Regions from separate parts of the Homo sapiens genome. Here regions 1 and 3 are each linked to region 2. Evidence: promoter capture Hi-C in human tissues and cell types (Jung and others, 2019). All regions are on one chromosome and are shown on one strand. Each heading gives the region's core, a stretch centred on a gene start or on the middle of the fragment in contact. The rest is flanking DNA. Distances are from core to core; before and after follow the strand shown. Region 1 has its middle 5.7 kb from the start of VPS45. Region 2 holds the start of PRPF3 (pre-mRNA processing factor 3). Region 3 overlaps HORMAD1 (HORMA domain containing 1).

The links. The method cuts DNA at HindIII sites, captures the fragments that hold promoters and counts their contacts. A contact is called where the count stands out against the background at its distance.
Region 1: a fragment that was not itself captured here is called in contact with the fragment with the promoter of PRPF3 in region 2 in 1 of the 25 tissues and cell types used here (adrenal gland).
Region 3: a contact is called between a fragment that was not itself captured here and the fragment with the promoter of PRPF3 in region 2, in 1 of the 25 tissues and cell types used here (heart left ventricle).

Annotation. Positions count from the first base shown.
Region 1 is chr1:150,059,986-150,064,247 of GRCh38, reverse strand. It overlaps a transcript of OTUD7B not described here. Among named protein-coding and RNA genes, the nearest start is that of VPS45, 5.7 kb to the left of the region's middle. The HindIII fragment of the contact is 8,735 bases long and covers 1-4,262 here.
Region 2 is chr1:150,320,257-150,324,210 of GRCh38, reverse strand. PRPF3 (pre-mRNA processing factor 3) reads right to left here and starts at 2,678. Exons shown (of 16, transcript NM_004698.4): 1 at 2,619-2,678. RefSeq lists enhancers at 2,580-2,629, 2,820-2,869, 2,999-3,564. The HindIII fragment of the contact is 24,557 bases long and covers 1-3,954 here.
Region 3 is chr1:150,707,181-150,711,433 of GRCh38, reverse strand. It overlaps HORMAD1 (HORMA domain containing 1), which reads left to right. Exons shown (of 15, transcript NM_032132.5): 8 at 2,473-2,540; 9 at 3,027-3,178. Among named protein-coding and RNA genes, the nearest start is that of HORMAD1, 12 kb to the left of the region's middle. The HindIII fragment of the contact is 4,564 bases long and covers 1-3,894 here.

The DNA of each region.
Region 1 (4,262 bases), core at 1,696-4,195, 260 kb after region 2:
ATAACGTAACCTACCTCATGAATTTGTGAGAATTAAATGAAATAATGTGCAAAAAAGTATTTTACACAGTGCCTGGTGCATAGTAAATGCTCAATAAATATCAGCTTCGATTATTAGAAATCAAAAGGTAAACATGTTTTAGCTTATTTTTCACTTATGGTTATATGTATTTCCCATTGACAAGAAAATTTAAACATAGAATCAATTTCAGAAAATGTCATCCATAGCTTCTAAATATAATTTCCATTAAGACTTGATCTTGTATTACTATACAATAATAGAAATACTAATGGGAAGATTTGACCTGCTCCATCATAATTTGTAAAACATGCAATTTTTATGAAGAAAAAACTTAGGAAAAATATGCTTCAAGTGATTTCAGAGGCTTAGTGTCTACGCAGCCTCAAATCAAACAGAATTTGTTAAATTTTCATCACAGTTCACCAACTGTGATGTGCTGAGCTTTATGGTAGCAAAAGCATTTAATAGCTTTAAATCATTGAGTAAAAATTATCTGCATGAAGAGTTCTGTCTGCACATTCAATAATTTCAGTGATTCCACCTTTCTGAGTAGGTAAATTGATAATAGCCACAGTGAGAATATTATAGCTGAGTTGGCTTGTAGCATGACTACCAACCAGCTATCAAATCCTGTGCAGACTCCTTTAAAATAACGATCCTGAATTCATACTTTTTATTACAAATAAGTTCACCATTTGTAGCATTTTGAGATGGCCAAAGAAACTGGATTTCTGTATTGCAACCACTCCACAGCAAGAAACATTTCTTTTTTTTTCTTTGAGACGGTCTTGCTCTGTCACCCAGGCTGGAGTGCAGTGGTGCCATCTTGGTTCACTGCAACCTCTGCCTCTGGGTTCTAGTGATTATCATGCCTCAGCCTCCTCAATAACTGGCACTACAGGTGCCCGCCACCAAACTGGCTAATTTTTGTATTTTTAGTACAGGCAGGGTTTCACCATGTTGGCCAGGCTGGTCTCGAACTCCTGGCCTCAAGTGATCTGCCTGCCTTGGCCTCCCAAAGTGCTGGGATTATAGGCATGAGCCACCATGCCTAGCCTAGAACCATTTCTATCTGCAGAAACTACAGGTAATATACTCAGAGACCTGAGTAACTGAAAATTTAGTTAAATAAGATCTTTGCATTCCCAAGGATGAAATGATCTAGTCTGAGTGAAATTTTTGGTGATTTGAGCTTGTTATAAGTATAAGTCAGGGCCAGCCTTGGTGGGTCACGCCTGTAATCCCAGCACTTTGGGAGGCGGAGATGGGTGGATCACTTGAGGTCAGGAGTTTGAGACCAGCCTGATCAACATGGTGAAACTCTGATTCTACTAAAAATACACAATTAGCCGGGCGTGGTGGTGCATGCCTGTAATCCCAGGTACTCAGGAGGCTGAGGCAGGAGAATCGCTTAAACCCGGGAGGTGGAGGTTGCAGTGAGCCGAGATCGCGCGCCATTGCAGTCCAGCCTGGGCAACAAGAGTGAAACTCCGTCTCAAAAAAAAAAAAAAAAAAAAAGAAAGAAGAAGAAAAAGAAAACAAATGTATGTCAGGTTTCCCCCTTCACTTTTTAATCAGTTCTAGACCATTTTATAGATTAGCAGCTTTCAAAATGTAGACTGTGCACTATGGTAGTTTTGTAAGTTGCTCTGATATATAAAATAGAATGTGCTTTTGTTTAAGAGAGATTCCTAGCTAACACAGGTAGAAAAGAACAGTTGCTCAGAGTAAGACATAATTTCTTGGCAAAAGATTAGAAAAGGGAATTCGCTGAAAATGAAATAAATGACTAGTAAACATTCGAAGAGATGCTCAATGGTAATCTAAAAAATGCAAATTAAAGTCACAATGGAATTACCATTTCATATCCAAAAATTAAAATGTCTGATAATACCAAGTGTTGGTGAAAATGTAGAACAACACTTCATATATTGCCAGCAGAAGTGTAAAAATTGGTATAACATTTTGGAGAGCAATGTGGACATTAAAAAGCTAAAGATATACTGTACATACTCTTGTACTCAAAAATTCGTCCCCTTGGTATATTTCCCTCTTCCTTCCATGGAAACTCCCAAGGAAGCTTCCTTTCTTTGTTCCGTGAAAGGGCCATATGTGCAAAGTGGCCCCCAAATGCTGAAGGAGCTGAGAAGGCAAAGAAGGAGGCAGACAAATCCAGTTTGTCAGTTTTGAGTGATTTATTAGGGGAATGTACAGACAGAAATATGGTTCTGGGCAGCTGCATGACAGGTAGATCTCTGCATCGAAACCTTCCAGACCCAGGGCTTATATCTTAGGGAAAGTATATGTGATCTGGAAGGAGTATGTAGGTGGCTGTGGGCATCACAGCCTATGATTTCTGCAATTGCATCAAGTGTGGTTTAGGAGGAAACTTACAGTGAATAGAAGTTCTTACATAAAGACTAATACATCATTTAGACATTCTGGAGGCATTCCCAGACTCGGGGTTAGTCAGAAGTTACGTGGCAGATTAGCATTTAAAATAAAGTCACTCTTGTCCCCACACTTGTTATTAGGCTAGGAGTAGCCAAGCAGGTCTTGGGGCAGCCAGAGCCCCTGGGCAGGTCACTGCTGGCTATGAACAGCCTCCTTTTTTTTACCTATATGCTTTTCCAAGATTTCCTATGTGCGGTCATGAAAGGAATTGGAAATCGTTGCCCTAGAGAACTCTCACATGTATGTGAGACACGTATGAGAATGTTCTTAACAGTATTGCTGATAATAGCAAAAAAGTTGAAAACAACCTAAATGTCCGTCAACAGAAGAATAAATAAATAAATCATGGTATGATTTTATAACAAAATACTATATTCATATTTAGCAGTTAAGACAAATAAACCAGAGTTAAGGGCATCCATATGGTTGACTCTCAAAAAGATGGTAGGGGTATAGAAACAACATACATAGTCCTTGTAGAGTATGATATTATTTATATAACATTTGAAAACATGCAAAAAATAATAGTATATTGTTTAGGGCTACAAACCTATAGATAGGTGTATGAAGAAATGCTACATGTGGCTGGGCACAGTGGCTTACGCCTATAATCCCAGCATTTGCGGGCCAAGGCAAGAGGATTGTTGGAGGCCAGAAGTTTGAGACCAGCCAGGACAACACAAGGAGACACCATCTCTACAAATTAAACAAAAAAAATTTTTTTTGTTTTTTGTTTTTTGTTTTAGTCAGCCGGGTGCGATGAGCTTGAGGCTGCAGTGAGCCATGAACGTTCCACTGCAGTCCAGCCTGGGGGACAGCAAGACCCGGTCTCAGAAAAAAAAGAAAAGAAAAGAAAAGAGAAAAAATAAATCCTACACGAGAATGATAACCAAATTCAATTAGTGGTTATTTCTAGCATGGGAGCAAGTGGGATGCCACTGGGAACCAGAGCATAGGTGCTTCAACTATAATGCTGATGCTTCATTTCTTAAGATGGGTAGAGGGTATGTGGATATTCCTCATATTTAATAATAGCTTTTTGCCTGTCTTACTGCATAATAAATATTTAATCTGACTTTACTGGTGGAAAGTCAACCTTCAGCCTCAGCTTTGGGCAGAATTAATTGCTGGATAAACTGTAACCTTCGTTCCTTCAGTAAATACCTATTGCATATCTTGTATGTCAGATGCTATGTAAGTTTGAGAGGGCTGCAATAACGAAGTACCCCCAGACTCAGTAGCTTAAACAATAGAAACGTATTTCCTCAATAGTTCTGGTGGCTAGATGTCTAAGGTCAAGTGTCAAAGGTTGGTTTCTTCTGAGGCCTCTCATAGATGGCTGTCTTCTCCTGTGTCTTCACATGGTCTCTATGTGGTGTCTGTGTCCTAATCTCCTAATCTCTTCTCATAAGGACACCAATCATATTAGGGCCCACCCTAATGACCTCGTTTAACCTTAATTACCTCTTTAAAGACCCTTTCTCCAAATGCAATCCCATACAGAGATACTGAAGGTCAGGACTTCAACACAGGAATTTTGCAGGGACACAGTTCATCACCTAACAGATGCTAACTGGTGAATAAATCCTTCAGCCCTAGATGTCACCTAATAGCCTGAAAATATGTGAGATGAGGCATTGAAATCTCACTGAAGGAGTCACGCTGATATTACTTGTATTTTCTCTTTTATATGCCAATATTAAATAGGAACATATGGCCCTACTTCTATCCTGGATTTTTTTTCTCTTTTAAACTATCTTCTATTTCATGAAATGGTTGAGATGACT
Region 2 (3,954 bases), core at 1,429-3,928:
GGCAGGCATTCCCTAACCCAACCCTGACTTATGTAGGATTCCCTTCTTTTAAGGTATGCAAGTAAAAGAGGGTTTATCCAGGTCAGTCATCTTAGATATTAAATTAAATCTCATGATCTTTAAGAATGTTCTGGCCGGGCGCGGTGGCTCACGCCTGTAATCCCAGCACTTTGGGAGGCTGAGGCAGGTGGATCACGAGGTCAGGAGTTCAAGACCAGCCTGGCCAAGATGGTGAAACCCCATCTCTACTAAAAACTACAAAAAAATTTAGCTGGGCATGGTGGCAGGCGCCTGTAATCCCAGCTACTCGGGAGGCTGAGACAAGAGAATCACTTGAACCCAGGCAGCAGAGGTTGCAGTGAGCCAAGATCGCGCCACTGCACTCCAGCCTGGGCAACAGAGTAAGACTCCGTCTCAAAAAAAAAAAAAAAGAATGTTCTGTCACATTTCTCTGTGGTCATATTCATCCCAGTGGGAATTCTGCATACAGGTAATTATCATGTTCAATCTACAGGGTCTCCATCAGCTGACTTGATGATCCTTCAGCTCAGAAAAGAATACCCTCATTTTTATTTTGAGACAGAGTCTCACTCCGTCGCCCAGGCTGGAGTGCAGTGGCGTAATCTTGGTTCACTGCAACCTCCATCTCCTGGGTTCACTTGATTCTCCTGCCTCAGCCTCCCAAGTAGCTGGGACTACAGGCATGCACCACCACGCCTGGCCAATTTCGTAGTTTTAATAAAGACACGGTTTCACCATATCGGCCAGGTAATGCCTTACCTCAAGTGATCTGCCCACCTTGACCTCCGAAAGTTCTGGGATTACAGGCGTGACCCACTGCACCTGTCTCTACTAAAAATACAAAAATTAGCCAGGTGAGGTGGTGGGCACCTGTAATCCCAGCTACTTATGAGGCAGAGGCAGGAAAATCACTTGAACCCAGGAGGCGGAGGTTGCGGTGAGCCAAAATCATGTGCACTCCAGCCTGAGCGACAGAGTGAAACTGTGTCTCCAAAAAAAAAAAAAAAAAAAAAAAAGCCAGGTGCGGTGGCTCACGCCTGTAATCCCAACACTTTGGGAGGCCAAGGCGGGTGGATTATCTGACGTCAGGAGTTCGAGACCAGCCTGGCCAACATGGTGAAACCGCATCCCTATTAAAAATACAAATATTAGCTGGGCGTGGTGACCTGCACCTGTAATCCCAGCTACTCTGGAGGCTGAGACAGGAGAATCCCTTGAACATGGAAGGCGGAGGTTGCAGTGAGCCGAGATCGCACCACTGCACTCCAGCCTGGGCGACAGAGCAAGACTCCGTCCCGGGGAAAAAAAAAAAAGGTGTCTAAATGGGAGTCAATAAATTGACTGACCTCAATTTCCAAGCTCAGCTATTCCCAGCAGTGCCACTTATCAAAGATCTGGGAATCATCTTTCAAGATGTTTTAAGACATCTTTTCTCCAAAAAATCCAGTCTGATTAACTTCTACATTCTTGGTAAGTTTAGCCTCTATACTAGAGTCTATAAGACTTGATGCCAAATAGACTCACTTTTGGTATATCCAAAGGAAGCTAGTAGATTGAAGTGATGAAACTAAGACTGAAAGATTTTCTGCCTCAGTGACAAGTTACGTGAGTAATTCTATGGTGGTTCTATTACCCCACAATGAGTAGACATACAGCGTACCAATTTCTACATATTACACATGTATTGCACAAAAGCGGCATATCCAGATGCCATAGAAAGTGAAAACAAGAGTTCACACAGAAACAGTTGGGACACTGAGCCCCACCATTTACAAGCCCTTGGGCAAGTTAAGTAATTCTTTGGAGCCACAGTTTACCATCTTACAAAATGAGTACTGCCATATTTACATCCTAATTCATTCAATAAATATTTATTGAGTAACTACTAAGTGTCAAGCAATGTACTAGGTGCGGTGGATACATAAAACAGTGAGCAAAACTAACAAGAGTCCTCACCTTAACGGGTCTTATATTCCACTAGAATTGAATGATAGGCTAGAAAGTATAAGCAATTTGAAAGCCCAAAGCAATAAATGAGGTGCCACTGTTACCTCCATAAGATGACGTGCAAACTAAACAGCCAATGGATAAAAAAGTTTCAAACGGTAATTAGCCTTGTCACTAATCAAATGCTCAACAATAACTGCGAGGTGCGGGGGTAGTGGGGGTGCGGAAGGAAAGCGAGGTACAATGATCTCTCCTCTCAATGAGCAGGCAGCAGAATCCAAATCCAGTCTTCAGAAGGAATTCCTTACTCCGTGCTCTTGTTTGCTACAACCTGAGTTTCCCTCTGCAGCCCCCCACTCCCCCGCTAATCTTCATTTTTACTCTCTCCGTCACTCCAACCAGTCTCTTACTCTACCTTGTTCTACCTAAACTCCTCACCCCAGAGCTGGTCTCCCAACCCGGTCTCCTTCCCGCCCCCGCCCTTTTCCTCTCAACAATCTCATTCCAACCTCTTCTCCCACCAAACCAGGTACTCCTTTCACACTCCTTCCCGCTGAACCCTCCCGCTTCGGTCCTCCCCTTGGACTGAGTCCCCGGCCACAGTGGCGCGGACTGGAATTACCCTCTGTGGGCCCGGGGCCACTACTCACCTCACAAACTTCAGCCCCTGAGACGGAGCCCGAACGTTACACCGGAACCGGAAACCTTCTGACCGCCCTACGGCGTGCCGTCGCTACCGCCACCGCCGCCGCCACGCCGCTGTCTCCCAACACGTGACCAAGGAGGGCCGGGCCGCCAATTCGCGCAGCCGTATTTGCCACTTTCTTGGAGGCTGAACGCATGCGTCGCAGAACCGAAAAGTTTCCCTGAGCAATTTCCTTGCTTTCTATTTCCCAGGCTAAACCTATTAGCTAGATTTCTGCCAAGGTTTTTTTTTTAGCTTTTTTTTTGAGACGGAGTCTCGCTCTGTCGCCCAGGTTGGAGTGCAGTGACGCGATCTCGGCTCACTGCGAGCTCCGCCTCCCGGGTTCACGCCATTCTCCTGCCTCAGCCTCCCGAGTAGCTGGGACTACAGGCGCCCGCCACCACGCCCGGCTGATTTTTTGTATTTTTAGTAGAGCCGGGGTTTCACCGTGTTAGCCAGGATGGTCTCGATCTCCTGGCCTCGTGATCCGCCCGCCTCAGCCTTCCAAAGTGCTGGGATTACAGGCGTGAGCCACCGCGCCCGGCCGATTTCTGCCAAGTTAATGTCTTTAACTTCCTGAAGCGGAAATTGGGCTACTTGCTGTTTTCCTCATATGGAGAATAAGTGCGCAAAAGTAAACTTAGGCTAGAATGAAGAGCGAGGCTTCTGCGTTTGTGTTCAAACACAGCCTTTCTGGTAGAAAGTAAACCCTTTCTCCCTAATTTAACAGTGGTGTCAGGCCGGGCGCCGTGGCTCACGCCTGTAATCCCAGCACTTTGGGCTCAATAAATGACAAGTGAGACCTACCAGTATTGTTTTCTCCATTCTATCAATAGGTCTATATATTAACTTCTCTCCAAAATGAGGCTCTAACCTACTGACCCTTTATTTTTTATTTTTATTTTTTATTTTTTGAGACGGAGTCTCGCTCTGTCGTCAGGCTGGAGTGCATTCGGCTCACTGAAACTTCCGCCTCCCGAGTAGATGGGACTACAGGCGCGCGACCACCACGTCCAGCTAACTTTTGTATTTTTAGTAGAGACGGGGTTTCACCATGTTGGCCAGGATGGTCTCCATCTCTTGACCGCGTGATCCGCCCACCTCGGCCTCCCAAAGTGCTGGGATTACAGGGTTGAACCACCGCGCCCGGCCCCTACTGACTCTTTAAATCGATGATTCATAACAACATGTGTGTGGACAAAGATAGTTTGGAAAAAGATTGTCCAGTATTATGACACAATTTCTTATATGAGAAATGGAAAAAATTCCATTATTTTTATATTATAAACTATCCAAACTAA
Region 3 (4,253 bases), core at 363-2,862, 390 kb before region 2:
TTCATATATATTTTCACATTTGAGCTTCATAAAACTCTTCTGAGGTAAGGCAGGGCTTGGATTGTTACCTTTAAACAGATTAGCATGACAGAGATTATGTGACTGATCTTAGGCCACAAAGCTTACAAACTGTTAGAAACTTAACTTAAATCTCCTGACGTCTAATTCTTTATAGTATTTTTTATACTACATTTTAGAATTATGAAAGGGCTTGAGTTTTAGGAAAGTAAGAAAGTCATCCTTAAACTTCGAATATTCATCCCAATCCATTCATAGCTACCTATTTATCTTACCATTAAAGGAGAGAAGGGAGAACGTGAAAGGGAAAACCAGAAGATAAGAAACAAGGGGGAAAGATCTACTGAGTGCTTACTTTATATTAGGCTCTGTTCTTTGGGGCTTTATGTGCATTATCTCATTTATTCATCCCAACCTTCATGAGGTAACCACTATTAGCATCTCCGCTTTACAGATGAGGAAATCTAAGTACAAGGGGTTTCTTGCCTAAGGTCATAGTGGCTGAAGTGGCAGAACCAGGTTTTTGAACCTAGGAAGGCCAGTTCACAATTTGGGTGTTTACCCATTACGCTATAGCTGTTACAATATAACGTTTCATTCAGTCAAGGAGAGGTAGATTTAAACTGGTGTTAAAAATAGACGTTTAAAAACATCACTATGTAAGCAATGAAATATAAAGAAAGCAATAGAAGTATTCAGGCTTCAGGAGGGCTGAGAATGTGTCTTTTCTTTGATACTCACACCTGCGATTAATGCTTAATATGTATCCATGCTGACAAAGCAGATCATTTGGGTAAAGGCTGTGAATTAATAGATTGTGTTCAGAAAACTAATTGATTGTTCAGAAAATGTTCATTTATTTTCATATGTTATATAGTTGTGCATTTTTTCTATCAGTAAATTAGCAACCTTGTTGATACAATAATAATATTTATTGAATGTTTACTATATGTCAGGTACTTTATAAAGTACCCTGTATAAATTATCCCATTTGTGAATATTTATTCACAACTATCAATGAGATATGTACTGTCTTTAATCTCTTTTTTAGCTGGGGAAACTAATACTTAAACTAAGGCTTAAGTGGCTTGCCTGTGGTTACAGTATAGCAAAGATTTATGCCCTGTGTTAGCCACTCTGCTGAGGTATGTTGCCTCCCTTATCTGCCTGCTAAGGAGTTCCTTCCATGTGGTATAAATAACTGAAGGGGTGGCCTGCCCCTCCACACCTGTGGGTATTTCTAGTCGGGTGGGACGAGAGACTGAGAAAAGAAATAAGACACAGAGACAAAGTATAGAGAAACAATAGTAGGCCCAGGGGACCGGCGCTCAGCATACCAAGGACCTGCACCGGCGCCGGTCTCTGAGTTCCCTCAGTTTTTATTGATTATTATCTTCATTATTTTAGTAAAAAGGAATGTAGTAGGAGGGCAGGGTGATAATAAGGAGAAGGTCAGCAACAAACATGTGAGCAATAGAATCTATGTCATAATTAAGTTCAAGGGAAGGTACTATGACTGGACGTACACGTAAGCCAGATTTGTTTCTCACCACCCAAACATCTCAGTGGAGTAAAGAATAACAAGGCAGCATTGCTGCAAACATGTCTCGCCTCCCACCATAGGGCGGTTTTTGTCCTATCTCAGAATTGAACAAATGTACAATCGGGTTTTATACCGAGACATTCAGTTCCCAGGGGCAGGCAGGAGACAGTGGCCTTCCTCTATCTCAACTGCAAGAGGCTTTCCTCTTTTACTAATCCACCTCAGCACAGACCTTTTATGGGTGTCGGGCTGGGGGACGGTCAGGTCTTTCTCATCCCACAAGGCCATATTTCAGACTATCACATGGGGAGAAACCTTGGACAATACCCCGCTTTCAAGGGCAGAGGTCCCTGCGGCTTTCCGCAATGCATTGTGCCCCTGGTTTATTGAGACTAGAGAATGGCGATGACTTTTACTAAGTATACTGCTTGTAAACATTTTGTTAACAAGGCACGTCCTGCACAGCCCTAGATCCCTTAAACCTTGATTTCATACAACATATGTTTCTGTGAGCTCCAGATTGGATCAAAGTGGTTGGGTCAAAGTGGCTGGGGCAAAGCTACAAATTAACAACATCTCAGCAAAGCAATTATTTAAAGTACAAGTCTTTTTCAAAATGGAGTCTCTTATGTCTTCCCTTTCTACATAGACACAGTAACAGTCTGATCTCTCTTTTCCCTACAATAACATACATTACAATGAGTTGGGAAATAAATGTCTCTCCAAGACTGAAGCCCCAAACCCAAACCATGAAAACTGACTATGAGGAATCAAAAGTTTCAATGGATCAATAGGGATTAATATGGCAGAAAAAAGTATTGACTAAATGTTGAGTCATACAAAACAGAATATAGCTATTTAGCAGCTAGTACTGAATATCAGAAGCATAACTGCGATATTTTCTATTTAAGACAATTTCAGAATGTTACCAATTCAAATTCAAATACACCAATAATGGACCACTCATGGACTTCATAAGGTATTGTTCTATAGTTTTCTGTTTGTATTACAGATTACCACTTATTCATATTAATGCTATATAGCTAAACCTCAGGATTCATTCTGAAACTGCGGGGACATCCCCAATTAACCATCAAGATGTGGCTATGCAAAATGGAGTGGTGGCTTGCAGTAGCTTCAAGCCAGGATTCTGTGGCTAATAATAAGCAATTTTAATTGTGGAAAGAGAACTTAGGTGATTAGAAATATAGAAATATAATTTTAAAACATAATGTGCTTTCTTTAAACACTTCATATAAAATGCACTTAAGTAAAATTAAGTTATTATTTCTAGCAGATATTAATATTAAAATTTTATAATAGTGACATTAAAACACATGGTAACTTTCAAGTTAACAGCTTAATGCTATAATAGAAATAAGAATCTCAAATAGTTAAAATGTAAAGTTATGATATTAGAAGCCACAGGTTTTATAAAATAAATTAATATGTGATTCTCTTCTAGTAAAAACCAAAGCAACGAATCTAGCATGTTGTCTACTGACACCAAGAAAGCAAGCATTCTCCTCATTCGCAAGATTTATATCCTAATGCAAAATCTGGGGCCTTTACCTAATGATGTTTGTTTGACCATGAAACTTTTTTACTATGATGAAGGTACTATTTGCAATACATCCTGTTTCAGTTGGTACATATGTTTTATCATTATTGAAACAATTGGTTTCCATTCCAAATATTTTTAGCACCTAAATTTTTTGAAATTATAAAATTTACACTTAATATCACTATTCAAGAAAGAAAGATTTACAAAATTAAGCTTTAAAATAGATGCTTCTCTAGTGATAGGAACATATCCATGTGAAGTATAACCTCACTCAAATTTAACAATGAGTTAACAGTTTTCACTTATCAGATTGGTAAAACGTGTTAATCCATTATTGATAAGGATGTGGGGAAACAGGAACTTTTTTTTGTTTGAGACAGAGTCTTGCTCTGTCTCCCAGGCTGGAGTGCAGTGGCATAATCTCAGCTCACTGCAGCCTCCACCTCCTGGGTTCAAGCAATTCTCCTGTCTCAGCCTCCTGAGTAACTGGGACTACAGGCACTCGCCACCATGCCTGGCTAATTTTTGTATTTTTAGTACAGATGGGGTTTCACCGTGTTGGCCAGGCTAGTCTTGAACTCCTGATCTCAAGTGATTCACCCGCTTTGGCCTCCCAAAGTACTGGAATAACAGGCGTGAGCCACAGCACCCGGCTGAGCAGGCACTTTTGTACACGCGAGGGACTGTAAACAGGTGCAACATTTTTAGAGGACAATTTGGCAGTATCAAAATTTTAAATGCACACTATCTTTAATCCAGAAATTCTATAGTGAGAAAAATATATTGAAGATATAATTGTGCAAATACGCAAAGTTATATAAGGATTTTGATTATAGCATTGGCTAAAATAGGAACAAACTGGAAACAACTTCAGTGTCCTTCATTGGGGACTGAGTAAATAAATTATGGTCCATCTGCGTAATAGAATACTACACAAGCTGTTAAAAAGAAGGTGCTGATAAATTACGTTATCCAAGATATATTATTAAGTTAAAACCAGCTAGGTATGGAATGGTATGAGCTCATTTGTGTTTTTTAAGAAATTTTATATGTATTTCCTAAAACCTATGTAAATATGAAATATCTTTTATTATATGCATGTCTTCTAGAAGAACATAAAGCAACAAA